Linked DNA regions of Homo sapiens: regions 2, 3, 4, 5, 6 and 7 are each linked to region 1. The links are contacts of gene promoters, found by promoter capture Hi-C in blood cells and fetal thymus (Javierre and others, 2016). All regions are on one chromosome and are shown on one strand. Each heading gives the region's core, a stretch centred on a gene start or on the middle of the fragment in contact. The rest is flanking DNA. Distances are from core to core; before and after follow the strand shown.

What was found. Contacts are between HindIII fragments. The CHiCAGO score rates a contact against its expected background, and 5 or more counts as called.
Region 2: a contact is called between a fragment that was not itself captured here and the fragment with the promoter of STAU2 in region 1, in 5 of 17 cell types (neutrophils, activated CD4 T cells, naive CD8 T cells and 2 more). The highest score is 9.1, in neutrophils.
Region 3: a fragment that was not itself captured here is called in contact with the fragment with the promoter of STAU2 in region 1 in 1 of 17 cell types (neutrophils); the score reaches 5.7 in neutrophils.
Region 4: a fragment that was not itself captured here is called in contact with the fragment with the promoter of STAU2 in region 1 in 7 of 17 cell types (activated CD4 T cells, neutrophils, naive CD8 T cells and 4 more); the score reaches 11.8 in activated CD4 T cells.
Region 5: a fragment that was not itself captured here is called in contact with the fragment with the promoter of STAU2 in region 1 in 6 of 17 cell types (neutrophils, activated CD4 T cells, non-activated CD4 T cells and 3 more); the score reaches 12.8 in neutrophils.
Region 6: a fragment that was not itself captured here is called in contact with the fragment with the promoter of STAU2 in region 1 in 1 of 17 cell types (neutrophils); the score reaches 8.0 in neutrophils.
Region 7: a contact is called between a fragment that was not itself captured here and the fragment with the promoter of STAU2 in region 1, in 1 of 17 cell types (neutrophils). The highest score is 5.5, in neutrophils.

Annotation. Positions count from the first base shown.
Region 1 is chr8:73,745,215-73,748,314 of GRCh38, forward strand. STAU2 (staufen double-stranded RNA binding protein 2) reads right to left here and starts at 1,626. Exons shown (of 15, transcript NM_001164380.2): 1 at 1,569-1,626. RefSeq lists silencers at 1,029-1,088, 1,199-1,378, 1,669-1,758, 1,839-2,128. The HindIII fragment of the contact is 14,890 bases long and covers 1-3,100 here.
Region 2 is chr8:73,918,523-73,921,420 of GRCh38, forward strand. No RefSeq gene overlaps it. Among named protein-coding and RNA genes, the nearest start is that of LINC01617, 41 kb to the left of the region's middle. The HindIII fragment of the contact is 9,703 bases long and covers 1-2,898 here.
Region 3 is chr8:73,982,687-73,985,828 of GRCh38, forward strand. It overlaps TMEM70 (transmembrane protein 70), which reads left to right. Exons shown (of 3, transcript NM_017866.6): 3 at 1-97. It also overlaps the pseudogene DSTNP3. Among named protein-coding and RNA genes, the nearest start is that of LY96, 7.1 kb to the right of the region's middle. RefSeq lists an enhancer at 2,274-2,856 and a silencer at 2,354-2,554. The HindIII fragment of the contact is 1,373 bases long and covers 695-2,067 here.
Region 4 is chr8:73,945,318-73,948,357 of GRCh38, forward strand. ELOC (elongin C) reads right to left here. Exons shown (of 4, transcript NM_005648.4): 4 at 1-1,503. The coding sequence ends at 1,313. Among named protein-coding and RNA genes, the nearest start is that of ELOC, 25 kb to the right of the region's middle. The HindIII fragment of the contact is 7,172 bases long and covers 1-3,040 here.
Region 5 is chr8:73,900,013-73,902,824 of GRCh38, forward strand. No RefSeq gene overlaps it. Among named protein-coding and RNA genes, the nearest start is that of LINC01617, 22 kb to the left of the region's middle. The HindIII fragment of the contact is 6,386 bases long and covers 1-2,812 here.
Region 6 is chr8:73,578,564-73,581,476 of GRCh38, forward strand. All of the region lies in intron 12 of STAU2 (staufen double-stranded RNA binding protein 2), which reads right to left. Among named protein-coding and RNA genes, the nearest start is that of STAU2-AS1, 160 kb to the left of the region's middle. The HindIII fragment of the contact is 3,568 bases long and covers 1-2,913 here.
Region 7 is chr8:73,509,871-73,512,675 of GRCh38, forward strand. All of the region lies in intron 13 of STAU2 (staufen double-stranded RNA binding protein 2), which reads right to left. Among named protein-coding and RNA genes, the nearest start is that of STAU2-AS1, 91 kb to the left of the region's middle. The HindIII fragment of the contact is 4,279 bases long and covers 1-2,805 here.

The DNA.
Region 1 (3,100 bases), core at 376-2,875:
CAGCAATCTACAATTAAAGTGTTATGTGATATCTCTTGTTTGCAGTAAGATACAAACTGAACAATGAAAATCTGGCCATACTACAAAACAGAGATGGAGAGTAAGTCTTGGTTTTGGTAGTTTTATTAAATAAGATTTTTCCACCGCAGCTGAGTTCACAACAGTGTACTTGAATCATCTAAAGAAAGCAAGGACGGGGAAGAAATATCCTGGAGAAATGTTGAAATCTTTTCTCCTCCAAGGTTACTATCACCCTGCCTGTCCATCACAATTTTGATTTCAAGTATTCACGATGCTGGTCTGAAACACAGGATGCATCAGAAGCCAAGTAATGCTCAGCAAAAGTTCACCAAAATTGTGAAAGCAAACATTAAATAAAAAACGTTTTCAATTAACAGTAAAATATCTTTAAAGGATCATCTCTAGCCTTTCTTTCTGCAGGATCCACCCACTTTAAAATCCTTTGGTAAATTCCCAGGTCTACCCTAATTGAATGGTCCCTCTCTATCTGCTCAAGCAGTTCTTAACCCTTTGGAGTGGGGATGGGGGTAAGGGGACATCACAGCAAATATGGACCCTTACCAAAGAAAATTATTCACAAATGCAAAATTCTACACACATTTCCAAAGACTTCCAGAATCCCACGGCCATTACCCCCACCGCCTCCCTAAGAATCCCAGAGTGGCGTGCTTCTCAATGGCCTCTGCGGAGCACCCCCAGCCCCCAAGCCACAGCCCCCGGCTCGACCCCGAAGAGACTAGAGTTCCTGCTCTCACACAGCGGATTCCGTAACTGAGCTTTGTCTCCTCGCCCAACTCCCTTCACCCCGGCAAGGTCACTACCGCCAACTACCCCTTTAAGCCGAGCCATCACGGTAGGAGTTCGTAACAGCCACAGCAGAACTTGCCTGTCATAGGATATATTTTGTCCCCTCGGCCCCACCTACCCTCCCCATTTCGGCAAGTTACGTCTTTACCACTAGCCCATTCTACAGAAATAGCTGCCGCCGCCACCCTCCGGCGCGCCCCGGCCCCGCCGCTCCGCCTCCAGCGCCCCCAGGCCCATTTCCCGCAGACCCTCCCCGGGCCGCCCTCCCCTGCCCTACTCTAGGCGCTCCCTCTCCCTCGCAGCCACACCGTGGCTGCACTCGCCGTCCTCTCTTCCGGCCGCTACCACCCCGGCCCCCTAGAACCCCAGCCTCCCGCGCCCGCAGCCGCGTTCCTGTCTCCCCGACCTCCGCACCCCCACTTGGCCCGGCCTCCTCGCCTTCCTCCCGGCTCCTCCCCTCAGGACACCTGTGTCGTCCCACCCCCTCCACCACACACGCACCCCCCACCCCAATTCCTTCGCCTCCCTGTCCTCCCTCCCCCGCCGGTCTCCCCTCCCCGCTGCTGCCCCGAGAGCCCGATGTGGGAGGGAAGGCGCGGGGGAGGGGAGGCCGCGAAGGGGGCTGCTTTTCTCCGGGTTCCCCGTGCTGCGGAACTGCAGGGCTCCCCAGCGCCCTCTGCCTTCTTCGCCGGCGGCGCGGAAGTCGGGGTCTCCCGGACGCCCCCGATGAGGGTATTTACCTTCTTGCCGGGGACACTTTGCAGACGGCTCCAACATTGGCAAACACTACAGAGAACTGACCCCGCTCGGCCGCCGCCGGCTTCCACCCCTCGGGCTCCCCGCCCCCCGCCTCCGCCCGCCTCCGCCCGCCTCCCCGGCGCTCCCGCCGCGCCCTCCCGCGCTCGCGCCGCGCGCCCCCGCCTGCGCAGCCGCTCCCGCGCCCCAGCACGCCCGGCCGGCGCGCGCGCCCGGCACCGGCTCTACCTCCACTCCGCCTCCCGCCGGCCCGCGACCAAGCGCGGCCATTGTTCGCGACGCAGCTCCCGCCCCCTGGCGGCTGCCGGGCCCCAGCAGCTGCAGGCTCTGCGGGGCTAGCGGCGGCGAGCTGGGCCCCTGGGCGAGGGCCATTCCCGGGGGGCTTGGGCACGCGGGCGAGCGACTGCGCAAGGAGCGCGCCCGGTCCGCAGTCTCCTCGTCCCCGGCGCGACTCCCCGCCCCCTCGTCTGCCAAGGGTGGGCCTGGGGCAGCCCCTTCCACACCTGCAACTCGGCAACTTCCTTCCCCGCCCGACTGACCGTCTGCTCTTTCTGGTCCGCACCCTGTGCTCTGATTCCCCGCTCGTACCTTTCCCAGGCTCTCCGGCTGCCCCTCTGTGCTGTGCAGGGGACGCGCGACCATCCCGCGTCTGCTCCGGCCGCCGCTGTGCAACGCACGGTTTAGCGGATCTTGCACCTTTCTAGACGGGGGAGGGGGCGGGGAGGAGGTTGCTTCACCGTCTCGCCCAGCAAACACCAGGGATCCGTGATCACCTGCTCGCCAAGACCCGCGGCGTGGCCAGACCTCCTCTTCTACCGAAAATATTAGTCACATGAAAAAGAATCCTTGGAGCCAAAAATGAGAACCATTGAAAACAATGCCCTGAATCCTAGATTTATGAGGCAAGAGTGCCAGAAAACAGAAATTACGTCTTAATTCGTCCTGGTTTTGATGTGGATTACTTTTGTCTAGATAACTTCAACCCAGTTAAGCTCAATGAAACTGAACACTTCGTTTAGTAACCGGCACCAAAAATAATCTGACAAAGAAATTTCGAAATAGAACTATTAGTGTGTTTTCACAAACTTACTCGTTTGCAACGTTATTTCTAGGGTTTCTTCCCAGTGTCACTTCTCTGACTGAGAAATGTCTCCCAGGCCGGTGATTTCAGTCATCATCTAAAACCAATCTCATGTCTGCACCTGGGAAGGTAGTGTGTGTCCTGGTTAACCGCAAGGGCGCCAGAGTCAGATAACCAAGGCTGGATATCCGCTTGCTAACTGGTGAGGAGACCACGGGCATGTTACTTATCCTGTGCATCAAGAGGAGACTACATGTGATAGATAGTTCGTATTTAAATGTGACAATACATATGAAGCCCTTTAAATAGGACCGGGTATGTAGTACCTCTCCTGGTACAATGTTAGCTACAGCTATATTTTTCCTCCCAGAACTCTTTCCTATGCTCCTTTCCCCCCTTTTCACCTCTGCCAGTTCCCTCGGATTTAACATGTTG
Region 2 (2,898 bases), core at 296-2,795, 170 kb after region 1:
ATTTTTTTTGGTATGTTTTATATACAGAATTATATCTATCTATCTATATCTATAATACACACACATTTATACATATATGAATTTTTAATTCTTAGTAACCTCAGTTTCTAGCAATAACTTTTTTTTTTTTTTAAGACGGAGTCTCACTGTCACCCAGGCTGGAGTGCAGTGGCATGATCTTAGCTCACTGCAACCTCCGCCTCCTGGGTTCAAGCAATTGTCCTGCCTCAGCCTCCCAAGTAGCTGAGATAACAGGTGCCTGCCACCATGCCAGCTATCTGTTTTTTTTTTCTAGCAAGAGATTTTGAACTGTCACATATCAGTATTTCATAGATGAGAACCATTTCATAATTTTTATTTTTATTTATGTATTTATTTATTTGAGACAGAGTTTTGCTCTTGCCACCCAGGCTGAAGTTCAGTGGTGTGATCTCAGCTCACTGCAGCCTCTGCCTCCCAGGTTCAAGCGATTCTCCTGTCTCAGCCTCCCAAATAGCTGGGATTACAAGCATGCGCCACCATGCCTAGCTAATTTTTTTTTTTTTTTGTATTTTTAGTAGAGATGGGGTGTCACTATGTTGGCCAGGCTAATCTCGAACTCCTGACCCAGGTGATCTGCCCACCTCAGCCTCCCAAAGCACTGGGATTACAGGCGTAAGCTACCATTTCATAATTTTAGAAACATGTTTCCCAGCTGGGCATAATGGCTCATTCCTATAATCCCAGCACTGTGGGAGGACAAGGTGGGAGGATTGCTTAAAGCCAGGAGTTTAAGACCAGCCTGGATAACAAAATGAGACCCCATCTTTACAAAAAATTTAAAAAATTAGCCAGGCATGGTGGCACATGCGTTAGTCCCAGCTACTCAGGAGGCTAAGTAGGAGGATTGCTTGAGCCCCAAAACTTGGAAATGATCTGGATATTTATGAGTACCTATCACTTAATTTAACATAACATTAAGATTTCAAGTTACATGGAAACTTAATTTATTAACATTTATCTCATATACATTTACCTAATTAATCTATTTGTAATTGTTATAACAATTATACCTAGATTAGTTAGGAAAACTGATATATTAGATAAAACTAGTCATCTTTTCAAGTTGTTTCCCTGTTAACCATTTTTATAGAGTGTGACCATCAGGTGTTCACCTAAGAACCTTAAATTTAAATATATAGGTATTTTGCCTACAACTCAGAAGTTACAGTTCTTTTCTTTTCTTTTTTTGAGGCGGAGTTTTGCCCTTATTGCCTACACTGGCGTGCAATGGCATGATCTCGGCTCACTGCAACCTCCTCCTCCCGGGTTCAAGTGATTCTCCTGCCTCAGCCTCCCGAGTAGCTGGGATTACCGGAATGCACCATCATGCCCAGCTAATTTTGTATTTTTAGTAGAGATGGGTTGCCTCCATGTTGGTCAGGCTGGTCTCGAACTCCCAACCTCAGGTGATCCGCCCGCCTCGGCCTCCCAAAGTGCTAGGATTATAGGTGTGAGCCACCACGCCCAGCCTGATACAGTTATTTTCATTATACCAACAATATTGCACAAGACTATTCTGTTTTTAGGTTTAATTTATAGTTTGATAACTTTTGTGACAAGCCCTTACAGTTAAAACATCTAGTGGGAACAAATATAAAACTGTCTGACCAGTAAATCCAGGCAAAAATGTATACTGAAAATTCCGAAGATATTTTTATTTTTATTCTACTACCAAATTTAAAATCAGCTTCTTTGTCAAAATTTACTTGTCACATTAATTAAAAGGCATTGAGTTAATTATTATATATGTTACTTGAATGCTCATTTATCTAAGCCAATCTGAATAGAATTTCTTAAGGGAACTTTGATAATGCCATATTTTACCATGTAAACACAACATATAACATAATACATATGCATGTACATAAACATACCTAAACACATATACACACACAAGGCTCTGATAGCTTTCGTTTTAGAATTTTAGTCATAAGATAGTAAAACAAACATGAGTTCAAAAAAGACAGTTGGATCCAAATTACTTTTTGACAAAATGGGACCTGTTCACATGGCTCAGTTTTTATTTGACCTGAAAGGTAACCTAATGAAGGCTGTGAACCAAAATTTTGGGCAAAACAGTTCCCATAGAAGTTTCAATTAAAAACAAACACTTTTTACTCTTTTAACAGTTTCAAATGAGTTTAGGGTTAAATATTTAAATGTTTACATTTTAGTTGAAACTGGCTGAATTGTGTAAGAAATACAAAATCTCCAAGTGGCCTTGAATTCGTAACAAATCTTTCTTTTGTTTACTGGTCTGGCTTGCTTGACTAGTCAATGCAGGCAGGGAAACATTTTAGCAGTTTTTTTCCATTGGCTTTTGCTTGTTTTAGCCTCTGTGTGGCAGACAAAACAATGTTTATGCTGGACAGAGATTTATTATTATTGCTCTGAACTCAAGATTTCAATCTGTTTAATCTAAGATTCTAACTTTTATAAATATTTATTATCTAGTTCTTTTTTTTTTTTTTAGGATATCAATCCTTCAATTAACTGTTCTATTACCCTAAGCAATTGTTAGTCAGGCAAACCTACTTTTACATTTTCAAACAGTCTCCTGGTTGTTGGTTGTCATGGAGTTGTTGTAATTTATAAAGCCATTAATTTCAAAGCACTTTAAGACTTTTAAGCCAGGCATGGTGGCTCATGTCTGTAATTCCAACACTTTGGGAAGACAAGGTGAATGGATTGCTTGAGCCCTGGAGTTCAAGACCAGCCTGGGCAACATGGGGGAGATGCCACTCCACCAAACCAAACAAAAACCAAAAACCAGAAATTAGCTGGGTGTGGTAGCACATACCTGTAGTCCTGGCTACTTGGGAGCTGAGGTGAGAGGATTGCTTGAGCCTGGGAGGT
Region 3 (3,142 bases), core at 131-2,630, 240 kb after region 1:
CTTCAGTATCTTAATTTGTTTCTGCAACTGTGCACTCCTCCCTTGGTGGCACCCTATGGGTGTAGGAAAACCACTGTTATTAAACAGGTGAAAAATACCTTGTGTAAAATTGCTGTCTCTATGCTAGCTTTGTCAAGAATATCCATTGTAAGATTTTTACCTCTATTGTAAAGTGGAGATTGACTCTTGCCAAGGATTTTTAGCCAGGAACAAGAGGCCTCAAACCACACTATTTAGATCAGTAGATATTTACTAAGTGCCCAGTACTGTGCTAGTTACTAAGATCACAGTTAAGAATGAAACACCCCGTCTGTCTTTATGGAGCTACCTAACATTGTCTATGGCCACCATGATAGTAAATTTAAACTTTATGGCGTACATGTGTATGAGGGAGGTTGATGGGGAAGCAGCAGGAACATCTGTTCAAAGAGATCATTCAACTCCCAGGCTGCTCGAAACTTATTCATAGGAGATAAGACAGAAAAGCTGTCTTTCTGAGACGTAGAGCCTGCCCTCTGCTTGGATTGTCCAGCTCACCAGACTGAGAATTCCCACCGCCATTCCTCTGTGCCATCTTCTGCTCAAGGTGGGTTTTTGCCTGCTTGCTTCTCTGTCCTTTGTCCCCTAGATGTATCCTAGCAATGAATGAGAGATGTGTTTCTATTTTTTTCATAGCAACCTACTAGATAAGGGAAGCTTGTCCAGCCTGCAGCCCAGGACGGCTTTGAATGTGGCCCAACACAAATTCGTAAACTTAAATTTTATTTTTGAGATTTTTTTTTTAAGCTCATCACTATCATTAGTATATTTTATGTGTGGCCCAAGACAATTCTTCCAACGTGGCCCAGGGAAGCCAAAAGATTGGACACCCCTAAGATAAGAGATATCTTTCTATAGAAAGTTATTCTATGATCAAATGTTTATTATGGATACATTAGAAAGTAGAAGGAAGAAAGAGGCTGGGTGTGGTGGCTCTTGCCTGTAATCCCAGCTACTTGGGGGGCTGAGGTGGGAGACTCGCTTGAACCTGGGAGATCAAGACTGCAGTGAGCTGGGATCACATCACTGCACTCCATCCAGGGTGACAGAGCAAAACCCCATCTCAAAAACAAAAAAGGAAAAAATCACTCCTAGTTCCCCCTAGAAAAAATAGCATTGTTTACATTTTAAAGATCTCTTCCAATATTACATCTCTTCATAACTTGTTTTAAGTGCAATATATTTCTTTATGTTATAAATAAAGTTTTGGTGCTGCAAAAGAAATAGCACTCAAATATAACATTTTATTTTTTTCTTCTCAGCAAGGCAGTTTACTTCTATAGAAGGGGGCGCCCTCACAGATGGAGCAATGGTGAGCGCACACTTGGACAAGGGAGGAAAAGGGGGTCTTATTCCTGACACATGTGGCCCCTGCTGCTCTGTTGTTCTCCTATTGGCTAGGGTTAGACCGCACAGGCTAAACTAATTCCGACTGGCTAATTTAAAGAGACTGATAGGGTGAGTGGTTTGGCGGGAAAAATGGTTGTGGAGAATGAGCAGGTAATTGGAATGAGTCAGGGTGGAGCAGGTAATCAGAAAAGGTTGCTTTACGAGGAAGTTAAGTTTAAAAGTAGAAGGCAAAGAATTGAACATACATATTGACTCTTTGAAGAGAAATTTAGAACTCATATCTAACATTTACATGTTCTATATCCATGTGATCATTTTATGACTGTGCTCTCGGTCCCACAGCCGTGAAGAGGATGCCCTGCAGACTCACTGCCCACCGGCTCCCTCCCCCGCATCCCTGCAACCCCAGAGGCGAAGATGGCCTCAGGAGTGCAAGTAGCTGATGAAGTATGTCGCATTTTTTATGACATGAAAGTTCGTAAATGCTCCACACCAGAAGAAATCAAGAAAAGAAAGAAGGCTGTCATTTTTTGTCTCGGTGCAGACGAAAAGTGCATCATTGTAGAAGAAGGCAAAGAGATCTTGGTTGGAGATGTTGGTGTAACCATAACTGGTCCTTTCAAGCATTTTGTGGGAATGCTTCCTGAAAAAGATTGTCGCTGTGCTTTGTATGATGCAAGCTTTGAAACAAAAGAATCCAGTACAGAAGAGTTGATTTTTTTTTTGTAGGCATGAGAACTAGCACCTCTGAAAAGTAAAATGATCTGTGCAACATCCAAGGATGCAATGAAAAAGAAATTTCAAGGCATTTTATCAGTGTGTAGTGGAGTGAAAAACTTGTTTTTATTGGTTGATATCAGAATAATTCTTCAGAAGGCAACTTGGTAGTCTAGGGGAAAAATATGCTTTCACTAAGTGGGAAAGGTGACATCTCAAGGGCATGATATGGAGTGAGAATCTAGGACAGAGAAAGGATCAGCATGCATAGGATAACAGGATGATTCATCACTGAAATAATCAGCAGAACCAACTCAGGCCAAGGTTAGGAGGAGAAACATAGGCACCTCCCTCATGCCACTTTGCTATCCTACCCCAGGCAGAGTAATCTCAGGAAGACTGGGAAGGTAATGAATCTCTCACTGTCTAGCAAAGGTGAATCACTTATTTGCATCACAAAAGTCACCTATTTGCATGTGAAAAGGCAAGGTGATCCTAGCTGACATCTGGGTTACATCAGGTAATAACCCTGTTAACAATAAAATATTGCAATCCTTTTCTCTAATGTAGATTTCACTGTACTGAAAGGCTTTTGGAAGCAAAAGTAACAAGATGGCCATTAGATATGAATGGCAGTCTTAGCTTGAATGTATTTGTAAAAATTTTATTCTGATTCTTTTAGAACACCTTGAACTTGCTTTTATTTTTATTGAGAATTTCAAACACAAAAGTAAAAGAGTACAGTGAACCTGCATGACTCTATCATCCAGATTCAACAATGACCAATTTATAGTCACTATTGTTTCATCTAGACCTAATCATTTGCCCTCTACTTTTTGGGGAAAGCAAATTCCAGTCATAATAATATTTCTTTCTTAAATATTTACTTTTGTAACTCTACAAGATGAGGACTTATTTTAAAATGTAGCTACAATACCATTATCAGATCTACAAAAACAAAACAACCTCACAGCCCTAATGTCATCAATCTATCAGTCTGTTTAAATTTCCAATTGCTTCATAATTTTTTCCCACA
Region 4 (3,040 bases), core at 502-3,001, 200 kb after region 1:
CATGGTGGCCAGGCTGGTCTCAAACTCCTGGCCTCAAGTGATCTACCCGCCTCGTCCTCTGAAAGTGCTGGGATTACAGGCATGAGCCACCGGGCTCAGCCATATTAAGCCAGTCTCAAATAAGCTGGAGACTTAAGTTTATAGACCCTATAATGACAACTTTGTTCCACCTCTGAGATAAAGACAATACTAAACCCATCTCCAGTGCTTCTTTCCCCATGCATAAGGAATGATGCTGTCATATTTTTTCAAAAAATTTTTTGGCTGCTTAATAGAAAAGCTGAATGAGCTTGATTTCAGTAGAAGACCCACTGATTATGGGTATATTTATTGGGACATATTTTAATAGAAGATAATTCATGTAGGATATCTTCAATGCATTATAATATGATTTTCACTGTATCTCTTCACATGTTATTCCATAACATTCTAATTGGATGGAGAAAGACTGGAATAGTTCAAAAAGGTGTAGCTTTTAAGATCTGAATAAAGTTAATAGTGAGTCTTTTAAAATACATTTAAACAACTGGAAGTATAATCACAACAAGGGACTATGAAGGAAGAATAAATATTGCAAACGACGCTTTATAGTCAATGCAAATACAGTACTTTGAATTACCCAAAATGTATAATGCACAAGAACTCTAAGTCATGTAGTTTACTTGCTGACCATCTGGCTACAGTTCAGTTTCTTCTGCAAAAGCTGTACCTAGTAACCTTCCAAAATTGTTTTTAAATAAAGTTCTTAAATTGTAGCAATAAACAAAAGGACAAAGTACACTTAAAGAATACTGCAGTTTATCAAAAGACATAAGAAATTTCAACTCATACTTGGAGAGTTATAAAAATCAATGTTTTGGCTAAGTTATAAACATGTTTATAATGCAATTATTTGCATAACTCTAGTAATGCTAATGGCGGCTATAAGATTAGGTTTCTAAAAAACCACTAAAAACATAAAAATACTTAGCCTCATTATTTCCCTGTAGAACGTATTGATTTACACCTAAATTTCAGTATTTACTATATCATCATTGCTGATTTTAAGTCACATTCAAAGGATAAGGCAAAACCACCTACGAATTGGCATATTTGTTTATTTCTCAGTTTGTGAAAATGTCCTTAATTTGTTGATGTAGCAAACAAATTTCAACTTTGATTGCTATGCAAAAAAACAAGATAATCTGCTTTGCAATGAACTTTATATAGTTCAACTGCATACAGGCAACATGCTATATATGAAAAAGTTACTAACTGAACTACAGGTATTAAATACTGAAAAGAGTTAACAGTTTATTATAATTTATTTTATTTAACAATCTAAGAAGTTCGCAGCCATCAGCAGTTCCAGTGCAATTTCAGGTGCAATTGGGAATTCAGGAATCTCGGTGGAGCTGTTAGTGTAGCGAACCTTGTACGTAAAATACATGCATACTTTCGATAGCACATGTGAAGGTATCTCTCTAAAATTGACCTCATTGGTTTCGTTCTCAGCAAACTGACCTGTAAAACAAAAGAATTATGTATGTTATTGGCTGAATTGTGTCCTCCAAATTCATATGTTGAAGTCTTAACCCCTTGTACCACAGAATGTGGCTGTATTTAGAGATAAGTTCTTTAAAGAGGTAATTAAAAGAGGTCATTAGGGTGGCAATCCAATATGATTGGTGTCTTTTTGTTTGTTTGTTTGAGACAGAGTCGCGCTCTGTCACCCAGGCTGAAGTGCAATGGCGGGATCTCAGCTCACTGCAACCTCCACCTCCCAGGTTCAAGCGATTTTCCTGCCTCAGCCTCCTGAGTAGCTGGGATTACAGGTGTGCAGCACCACGACCGGCTAATTTTTGTATTTTTAGTAGAGACGGGGTTTCACCATGTTGGTCAGGCTGGTCTCAAACTCCTGACCTCATGATCCACCCACCTCAGCCTCCCAAAGTGCTGGGATTACAGGCATGAGCCACCGCGCCCGGCCATGATTGGTATTCTCGTAAGAGATCCGGACAGAGATGGGCATAGAGGGAAAACTGTGTGAAGACAGGAAGAAGATGGCCATGTACAAGACAAAAAGAGAGCCTCAGAAGAGACCAACTCTACTTTCAACCTCTACACTCCAGAATTGTGAGAAAATAAAGTTCTGTTGTTCAAGCCATCTAGGGGTGGTACTTTGTTATGGCAGCCCTAGCAAACTAATCATCATTAAAATAACCTCAATTAGCACCAAATGAATTATGGAATTCTGATTTTTTTAGTATTAACCTAAGTTTTTTTCTTTTTTTTGACATAGAGTCTTGATCTGTTGCCCAGGCTGGAGTGCAGTGGCATGGTTGTGGCTCACTGTAACCCCTGCCTCCTGGGCTCAAGTGATCCTCCCACCTCAGCCTCCTCGAGTAGCTGGGACCACAGGTGAGCGCCACCATGTCTGGATAATTCTTGTATTTTTTGTAGAGACAGAGTTTTGCCATGTTGCCCAGGCTGGTCTTGAACTACTGGACTCAAGTGATCCCCCTGCCTCAGAATCCCAAAGTGCTAAGATTACAGGCTTGGCCACTTGCACCTGGCCAACATTAAAAAAAACCTTTACTAAAATAGTACTTGAGGGCCGGGCGGGGTGGCTCATGCCTGTAATCCCAGCACTTTGGGAGGCTGAGGTGGGCGATCATTTGAGGTCAAGAGTTCGAGAGCAGCCTGACTAACATAGTGAAACCCCATCTGTACTAAAAATACAAAATTAGCTGGCCGTGGTGGTGAGTGCCAGTAATCCCAGGTACTCGGGAGGCTGAGGCAGGAGAATTTCTTGAACCCAGGAGGCAGAGGTTGCAGTGAGCCAAGATTGTGCCATTGCACTCCAGCCTGGGCGACAAGAACGAAACTCCGTCTCAAAAAAAAAAAAAAGATAGTACTTGAGATTCATCAAGACTGAATTTTAAAATTCTAATTCTCTCCCTGTGGGTTGGAAACTTAAGTAGCTTTTCCTAACAATCTTGGTGGTATGATTGGCGAGCAGGATGAAAAAGTAAAATCATTTTTAAAAAAGATCAATCCA
Region 5 (2,812 bases), core at 142-2,641, 150 kb after region 1:
TAAATAAATAAAATAAAAATGTATAGTAGCCAGGCCAGGTGCGTGGCTCATGCCTGTAATCCCAGCACTTTGGGAGGCTGAGGCGAGCGGATCACTTGAGGTCAGGAGTTCGAGACCAGCCTGGCCAACATGGCGAAACCCCGTCTCTACTAAAAATACAAAAATTAGCCAGGCATGGTGGCATGTGACTGTAATCCCAGCTACTTGGGAGGCTGAGGCAGGAGAATCACTTGAAACCAGGAGGTGGAGGTTGTAGTGAGCCGAGATCACGCCACTGCAGTCCAGCCTGGACAACAGTGAGACTCTGTGTCAAAAATTAAAAAAAATATATGTATAGCAATGCCCTAGGCCTTCACATTCACTCAACACTCACTGACTCACACAGAACAACTTTCAGTCCTGCAAATTCCATTCATGGTAAATGCTATCAACCTAAATAATAAACAGAGAGAAGTTCTTTAAAAGAAAATGTGGCCGGGCACAGTGGCTCATGCCTGTAATCCCAGCCCTTTGGGAGGCCAAGGCGGGCAGATCACCTGAGGTCGGGAGTTCGAGACCAGCCTGACCAACATGAGGAAACCCCATCTTTACTAAAAATACAAAAATTAGCTGGGTGTGGTGGTGCATGCCTGTAATCCCAGCTACTTGGGAGGCCAAGGCAGGACAATTGCTTGAACCCAGGAGGTGGGGGTTGCGGTGAGTCAAGATTGTGCTATTGTACTCCAGCCTGGGCAACAAGAGCAAAACTTTGTCTCAAAAAAAAAAAAAAAAAAAAAAAAGAAAAGAAAATGTTTATTTTGGAATAGGGCATTGCAATGGGAATACATGTACCAGAGTAAACTATGTGTGTATTCAGGGAGGTAAAGGAAGACAAAGGTTTTTTAACTCTTTTCCCATTTGGCCCAAGAATACTTGCCAGCAGTGCTTGCGGCTGCAGCATACCCCAAGATAACTTTGCCACAAAATATCTGGCTTTTATTAATATTATTACGTTTGCATCACTCCAGTGTGTTGATTTTGGAAACAAAAGACATCATTCTATTTGTAGCATTCTGTTTTTAACAGTGGTAGTTCGATTTACACACAGTAATTCTCGATGGTTGAAAATCAAATCCTAGAAAATGTAGCATTCCTATATGTGATGTTAGTTGTTCTCAAACAGTTGTTGGCCGAAGAGTTATTTGATGAATCTGATTTTTCCTAAATAGACGATTCTGGTGATTCAGACAATTCTGATGTTAGTTCTGTTTAGAAATAACTCCAAGAATACTTTTTATGTTTTATTTTCACATTGAAAATCAGTCAGATTTGCTTCAGCCTCAATGAGCTTGTTTATGTAAAATTAAATGAGTGCTGGCAGCAAGCTGCACCTTTTTTTCCTAAGTGGGAAAAGGGGTAAAGGAAAAATGAAGAAGATGATTACTTAATAGTTTTGAGATGATTATCCTTGGCTACAAGAATCAATAACAAGGGCGATGCCAGTCTGATCAATAACCAGGGTGATGCCTGCAAATGGATAGGCAGTTGCTGGGCAGATAGCCTCACAGAAGTATATTTTTGTGTAAAGTTGTGATGGCCTTTGTGTAGGGTTATGGGTTTGGCAGTCTTTTGTGGTAATTCTTGTAGTTAGGCATTTTTTTATTTTATTTTTTTATTTTTATTTTTATTTTTTTTAGACAGAGTCTTGCTCTGTTGCCCAGGCTGGAGTGCAGTGGCTGTGATCTCAGCTCACTGCAAGCTCCGCCTCCTGGGTTCACACCATTCTGCTGCCTCAGCCTCCCGAGTAGCTGGGACTACAGGTGCCTGACACTATGCCTGGCTAATTTTTTTGTATTTTTAGTAGAGATGGGGTTTCACTGTGCTAGCCAGGATGGTCTCGATCTCCTGACCTCGTGATCAGCCTGCCTTGGCCTCCCAAAGTGCTGGGATTACAGGAGTGAGCCACCGCACCCTGCCGTAGTTAGGCATATGTACATGAGAACCCTCCCTTCATGGCCTTCCCTGGCTCTATTTGTCAGGGCCTTGTTTTGTTTTTAACATAAGTGACTCTATTTTAATTCTGAGAACTTTTACATTCCCCTCTTTGAGAAAGATCTTTCTCCAAAAGCATCACTGATCAATCATCCTGTAGGTAGGTTTTGATTGTCCCTTGGTGCCAGGGTGGACCTGCCCCAGGTTGCTGGTCTGGTCCCATGTTGAAGAAGTGATTGGTGACTAGGAGTCAGTGTCAAAACCTTTGAAGGCACATTTGAGCAACAACGGAGGTTTGAAAAGAGTGGCTGTCAGGCTAAGTGTACCTGGAGTTTATTGTTAAGTCCAATTTTGTCTGTTCTGTAGTTTTTGCTATAACCTCAAAGTTCAGGACCAGAATTATTCTGTTAGGAGTTGTACTTCTGCAAAAGTTTAACAGGTAACAGATACAAATTTTAAAAGGTAAAATATAAAGTAAAACTAATAGTGTTATGACAATCCCAGTTAGCATAATGGTTTTGAGCTATGAACTAGGCTTAAAAGCAACCAATTGAATGAATCAAACGACTGTTATCCTGTCAAGTGGAAAGGTAAGCATTAAGAGTCTCATGGGCCGGGCACACTGGCTCACACCTGTGATCCCAGCATTTTGTGAGGTTAAGGTGGGTGGATCGCTTGAGCCCAGGAGTTTGAGACCAGCCTGGGCAACATAAAGAAACCCCATCTTTTTTAAAAATAGAAAAATTAGCAGGGCCCGGTGGTGCACACCTGTAGTCTCAGCTACTTGGAGGCTGAGGTGGGAGGATCACCTGAGCCCAACAATCAGAGGTTGCAGTGAGCC
Region 6 (2,913 bases), core at 329-2,828, 170 kb before region 1:
AGGCTCAAATGGACAGCAATGAGAATATGTATGTTCCCATTGCTCCCAATTGCTTCAGATAGCCCTCTATTTACGGGACCTTTGTTTGAAAACAACCAGATATTCAGGGACTGGGCTGCCCAGTACAAGTAACCCACCAATCCTTCTAAATAAGATCACTAAAAGCTGGCTACATTCTTACATTTCTAACACAGTATTTATGTCTAAAGAAATAATTAAGTTGGATCACTCAGCTTTATATTTACATCCAATTGGCTCCAACTGTTTTAACTGTCTCACTACAAAGTGGTTTCTACTATGGGAACCCCAAAGGGAATTTGTTCAGGGAGCTCTCTCAAAACACTATTAAAGAAAGTATATATTAATCTGTCACCTTAAAAGTCCAACACTTATATACCTCCCTTCTATCTCCCACCCCTACCCACCCCCCCAAAAAAACCAAAAAAACACTAGAGGTTCTAAATATAGTACATAGCATTTGGGAAACCAGCAGGCAATCTACCCAATGTCATATCACTGGGACAGTGTAGCCTCCTGGTTTCAGGATGTTCAGTGTTTAATAATACATGCATATGAAACAAAAGTGACAAAAATATTGGTAAGTCAACTAAGATCCTAAAGAGGTCAATAAGAATGCTATCTCATTCCACAAGTATTTGTCTTTGGTCATCTCTAATGAACCTACAAGTGCCAGCATATTTCACAGGGGCTAAATAAAACTTTTTAAAAGGTTAACGGAAAAATATTTATGTGAAAAATGCCTCCGAATAATCTTTTAGTGGGTGGATTTGGCACATACCAGTGAATACCTTTGAGCTTAGTCCAATCTTGAATTAAGCTACAGTTCACCTTCAAGAAACTATGAACCTGCTTTTAAGTAAAAGCCTGTATTAATAAGAAACATGGAATGTGAATACAAAAAGAGATGTTATCAGCTGAACTGTATCTAAATATTTTACAAAGTTTTCCAAGAGCCGTGAGCTGTCAGTAGATCTTTAAAATTCATGATCTTTTTTTAAAAAAGTTATTCATTCATCTGTAAAAATCTAGTTTTTTATGTGTACACCAAGCATAAAATTGCCCTATGCTAAACTTAACATAAACCTCACATTACAGAGTTATGTGTTTTTATTCTTCAACATAACTATTACAGTGATTCAAAGGATAAAAACACACTTAGAATAGTCTACCTTCTGCTGCATTTCAGTACAATGAAGAAAGCCTGAGCAGCACCCAAAAACTAGGTCCATATTTTAAATCTGCAGGCAATCAAGCAAGGAAAATAAATTGAGGAACCAGGCTATGTAATCACAATCACTTGCAAAACCATTTAAACTATTTTCTAGTTGTAATTGTTAGCAGTTTCCTATGACTGTAATCTTTTAAAAAATATCTTCCACTTAAAAAATTAAATGCACATGTACATTAATGTTTTTTGTCTACTTATAGTTAGGTGCTATGCCAGATTAAAATTCCCCTCTTTCCCCTTTCCAATTCTACATTCCCTTTTCATTTTTGTACATTATGGTTCCAAGCTAATTTCGTATTATTTATCCAAATAATGGGTGGCTAAAAATTTGATCTTTAAAACTACAATTTTGAAGCAATGTAGAGTTTAACAAAACATAACAAACAAAAAACCATAGTGAGTTAGCCATTTCATGATGACAGTGTTTTTCACAAAGTAATATGTTACCTTTTCAGATGTTATTCAAGGATGGGTAATCATTTTATAAATGTTACATAATTAAAGATTCTCAACATTATAAATTAGTATGCATAACTCTTAACAGAGAAAATTGAATAATAAGATGTAAATTGAGTTGTTCAAGGTCAGACAGTATGTCAGTGAGGCAGCCAGCACTGGCAATCTCAAATTCCTGTCTTCCCCCACATGTGCCATCCCACAAGATCCCTGCTCTAACCTTTGCCTGCAAAATGCTAACTCTGGTATTCTTCACAGGACAGAAACCATTTAGAATAGAATTTCAAACTTAAGAAACTGATTAAGAAGTTAACCTAAATATTACCATAATATATGAATTTAAATTAATTTTCAGCTAATTGGTCCATCATCTGAATGATCAATTCCTAAGCACAGTCCAACTTCTTCCTAATGTTGTATTTAAGTGCCAATGAGCTGGCTCAAGGGGACTCAGGTTTCACTTGTGAGAACTAACCCTTGGGGAATGAAACAGCTACTTTTCAGAGCTGGGCTGCCCTTATCCTCTATCGTAATCCAAGGAAGGGACAATCCAGTGTTCATTCAAAGAACTCTTAGAGCAGCTTTCTCACCTCCTTACAGCTGGGAAGAGATAACAGAACATTCTTATTTCAAAGCCTTAATCTGAACCATTGTAGACCATGAATTCCTAAAGCATTAACCGTCTGGTTAAGATTTAAGCTGGCTTCAAATAGTTTTCTCACTTCTAACTTTATGTCTCAAGCAAACCCGTTATGCATTCTTACACATTTCTGATCACTTAAACTCACTGGCCTCTTTGTGATATTCCTTCCCATGTCTGCACAGGACAGAAGTATCCCCCACTTGTCATCCCATGAGATGTATCCCTTAGCAAGTTAAAAAAAAACAAACACATAAAGCTAGGGGCCAAAACATCATTGTTTAATGATGGAGCCTGCAGGTTATCTATAAAGTGATTTCACGTTAAAATTGTCAAGTTAATAACTATTTGATCTTTATATTAAAATACATAAAGTTTATATTCTTTGAAAAAAAAGTTTAGTGCCTGAATGTAACTATTCAATAATAAGCTATATATTCTTGGTCACCATATGTATGCACAAACCATCTGACAGACAAAAGTATAAGAATGGAATTTCTGGCACGCCTACATAGAATAGTATCATTTTTATAAAAGACAAGAGGGAGGAGGCATGGAAGGAAATCAA
Region 7 (2,805 bases), core at 138-2,637, 240 kb before region 1:
TTGTATTTGAGTTGATAATTTGACCTGGAATTTTTCTGTTGGCATAAAACTGTTAGAAATGCTTATTTTTTAAATTTCACAAAATTCTCAGGTAGTAAGCAAAGCATTAGAACAATAAAGGCCTCTACAACTAGTTCCATACAGCATTTTGATGTAAAAATATGCATAAATCTTTAATTGGAAAGTATATTTCTTTTTCTTTTTCTTTTTTTTTGAGACTGAGTTTCGCTCTTGTTGCCCAGGCTGGAGAGCAATGGCGTGATCTCGGCTCATGGCAACCTCCACCTCCTGGGTTCAAGCGATTCTCTTGCCTCAGCCTCCCAAATAGCTGGGATTACAGGCATGTGCCACCACACCCAGCTAATTTTGTATTTTTTTAAGTAGAGATGGGGTTTCTCCATGTTGGTCAGGCTGGTCTCGAACTCCCAATCTCATGTGATCCGCCCACCTCTGCCTCCCAAAGTGCTGGGATTACAGGCGTGAGCCACCGCGCCTGGCCAGAAAGTATATTTCTTTACAGTAAAAAATTAATAATATTTGGACAAATAGTCAAATTTGTACAAATAGTACAATTCAGATGTAACACACTAACTATAAACTATGTATTTTTACAAGAACTAATTTCAAAATATACATATATGGATGTATTAGTCCATTCTCACACTGCTAATAAAGACACACTCAAGACTGGGTAATTTATAAAGGAAACAGGTTTAACTGGCTCACAGTTCAGCATGACTGGGGAGGCCTCAGGAAACTTCAATCACGGCGGAAGGGGAAGCAAACACATCCTTCTTCACATAGCAGCAGCAAGGAGAAGAATGAGTGCCCAGTGAAGGGGGAAGCCCCTAATAAATCCATTAGATCTCCTGAGAACTCACTCACATCATGAGAACAGGATGGGGGAAACTGCCCCCAGGATTCAGTTATTTCCACCTGGTCCCTCCCACGACATGTGGGGATTATAGAAACTACAATTAAAGATGAGATTTTGGTGCCAAGCCTTATCAATGGATTTACACAATTGATATTTAGAAGCTCTTCAAATCTATTTGTAAATTTAAAAGTTAAGTAGAATCATCTCTGCCTTGCAATTGGGAGCTGCAGAAGGTCAACTGGCAGCGCCTGCCTGCGTGGGCAACGTTCTTGGTGACCACTGAAGGCAGTGTGGGCTCACCAAAGCGAGGCTGCTCTCTGGGTTCCTTCCTCTTTGGCTACTTATGGTGTCGGTGCATGAGATGCTCTATCTTATCCACGAAGGGAAACAACCTACTGGACATCTGAAAAAGTGAGGAAACTAAACATGCAGTGTTGTGCTTACTTCTAAGCAATGGAGCTAATCCAGAAGGGTCCATACCAGGCTGATTAAAGCACTTCTCTTTTGGTTTAGTATTCACCTTCATCAACATCACTTTCACCATCATAGTCATTCTACCCCTCCTCCTCATCTTCTTCTTCCCTCCTTTCCTCTTTAAGAACTTTCAGGTATTTACTAGTGGAAACCTTCTTTGGCAATAATACACCTTCAAGAAACTGAAAAATTTCTGATTCCTCTGCTGTATTTGCTAAATTACTGTTAGTGCTTTCTTCTTTCTACTGCCATGACCGTAGGAATAGATGGTTAGAGACTTAACAAAGAGTTGTGTGGCCTTGGCCAGGAGCACCTCGAGGTTGATGCACAACACCATGGGAGAACTCTTCATGATGACCAGATGTGGGACAGGGACAGCAAGAGAAGCCACTGCTCCCTGCACTTGTCTTTGCCCACAACCACGTCCCCCACTTTTCCGCCCCTCCCATGTGGGTGGCAGCTGGTGCCCCACCATGAGGTGGCTCTCAATTTTCATTTTCTTAATAATGTTGTTAATGCAAAAAAGTTTTAAGTTTTGGTAAAGTCCAATTTACCAATTTCTTCTTGTATGGATCATGATTTTGGTGTCATATCTAAGAACTCTTTGCCTAACCCAAGATCATGAACATTTCTCCTATGGTTCTTTGAGAAGTTTTAAAGTTTTGGGTTTTACATTTAAGTCTATTATCTATTTTGAGTGAATTTTTGCATATGGTATGAGGTAAGGCTCCAAATTCATCTTTTTCATATGAATGTTTTATTTTCCCAGTACCCTCTGTTGAAAATGTTATTCTTTCCTGATTAAATTTCCTTGGCATTTTTATTGAAAATTGATCAAAAATAAATATAAAAGTTCATTTCTGGACTCTCAATTCTGTTCCACTGATCTACATGTCTATCCTTAATGCCACTAAGTAGAGTACTGTAGTTTTACAGTAAAACTTAAAATTCAGTAGTGTAAATGTTTCAATTTTGTTCTTCCTTTTCAAAACTGTTTTAGCGATTCTGGTCTCTTTGCATTTCCATACACATTTTAAGATCAGCTTGTCAACTGCTATCCCCAAAAGCCTGCTGGGATTTTGACAGGGATTGTATTAAATCTATAGGTCAATTTAAGAGAAAGTGCGAACTTAACACTAAAGGTTCATCTAATCCATGAACATTGAATACCTCTCATTTGTTTTAGATCTTTAATTTCTTTTAGCAATATTTTATAGTTTTCCATGTGCAAATCTTGCATCTCTGTGTTTAAACTGATTCCTAAGTATTTTATTCTTTTTGATGCTACTGTGAATGAAATGGTCTTAATTTCATTTTTGGTTTTTTTTTACCAGTATATAGAAATACAACAAATTTTTGTATATTCATCTATAAATTATATCCTGTCTGTAACTGAACTTGTTTATCAGTTCTAATAGGGTGTGTGTGTGTATGTGTGTGGGGGGTGGGTATTT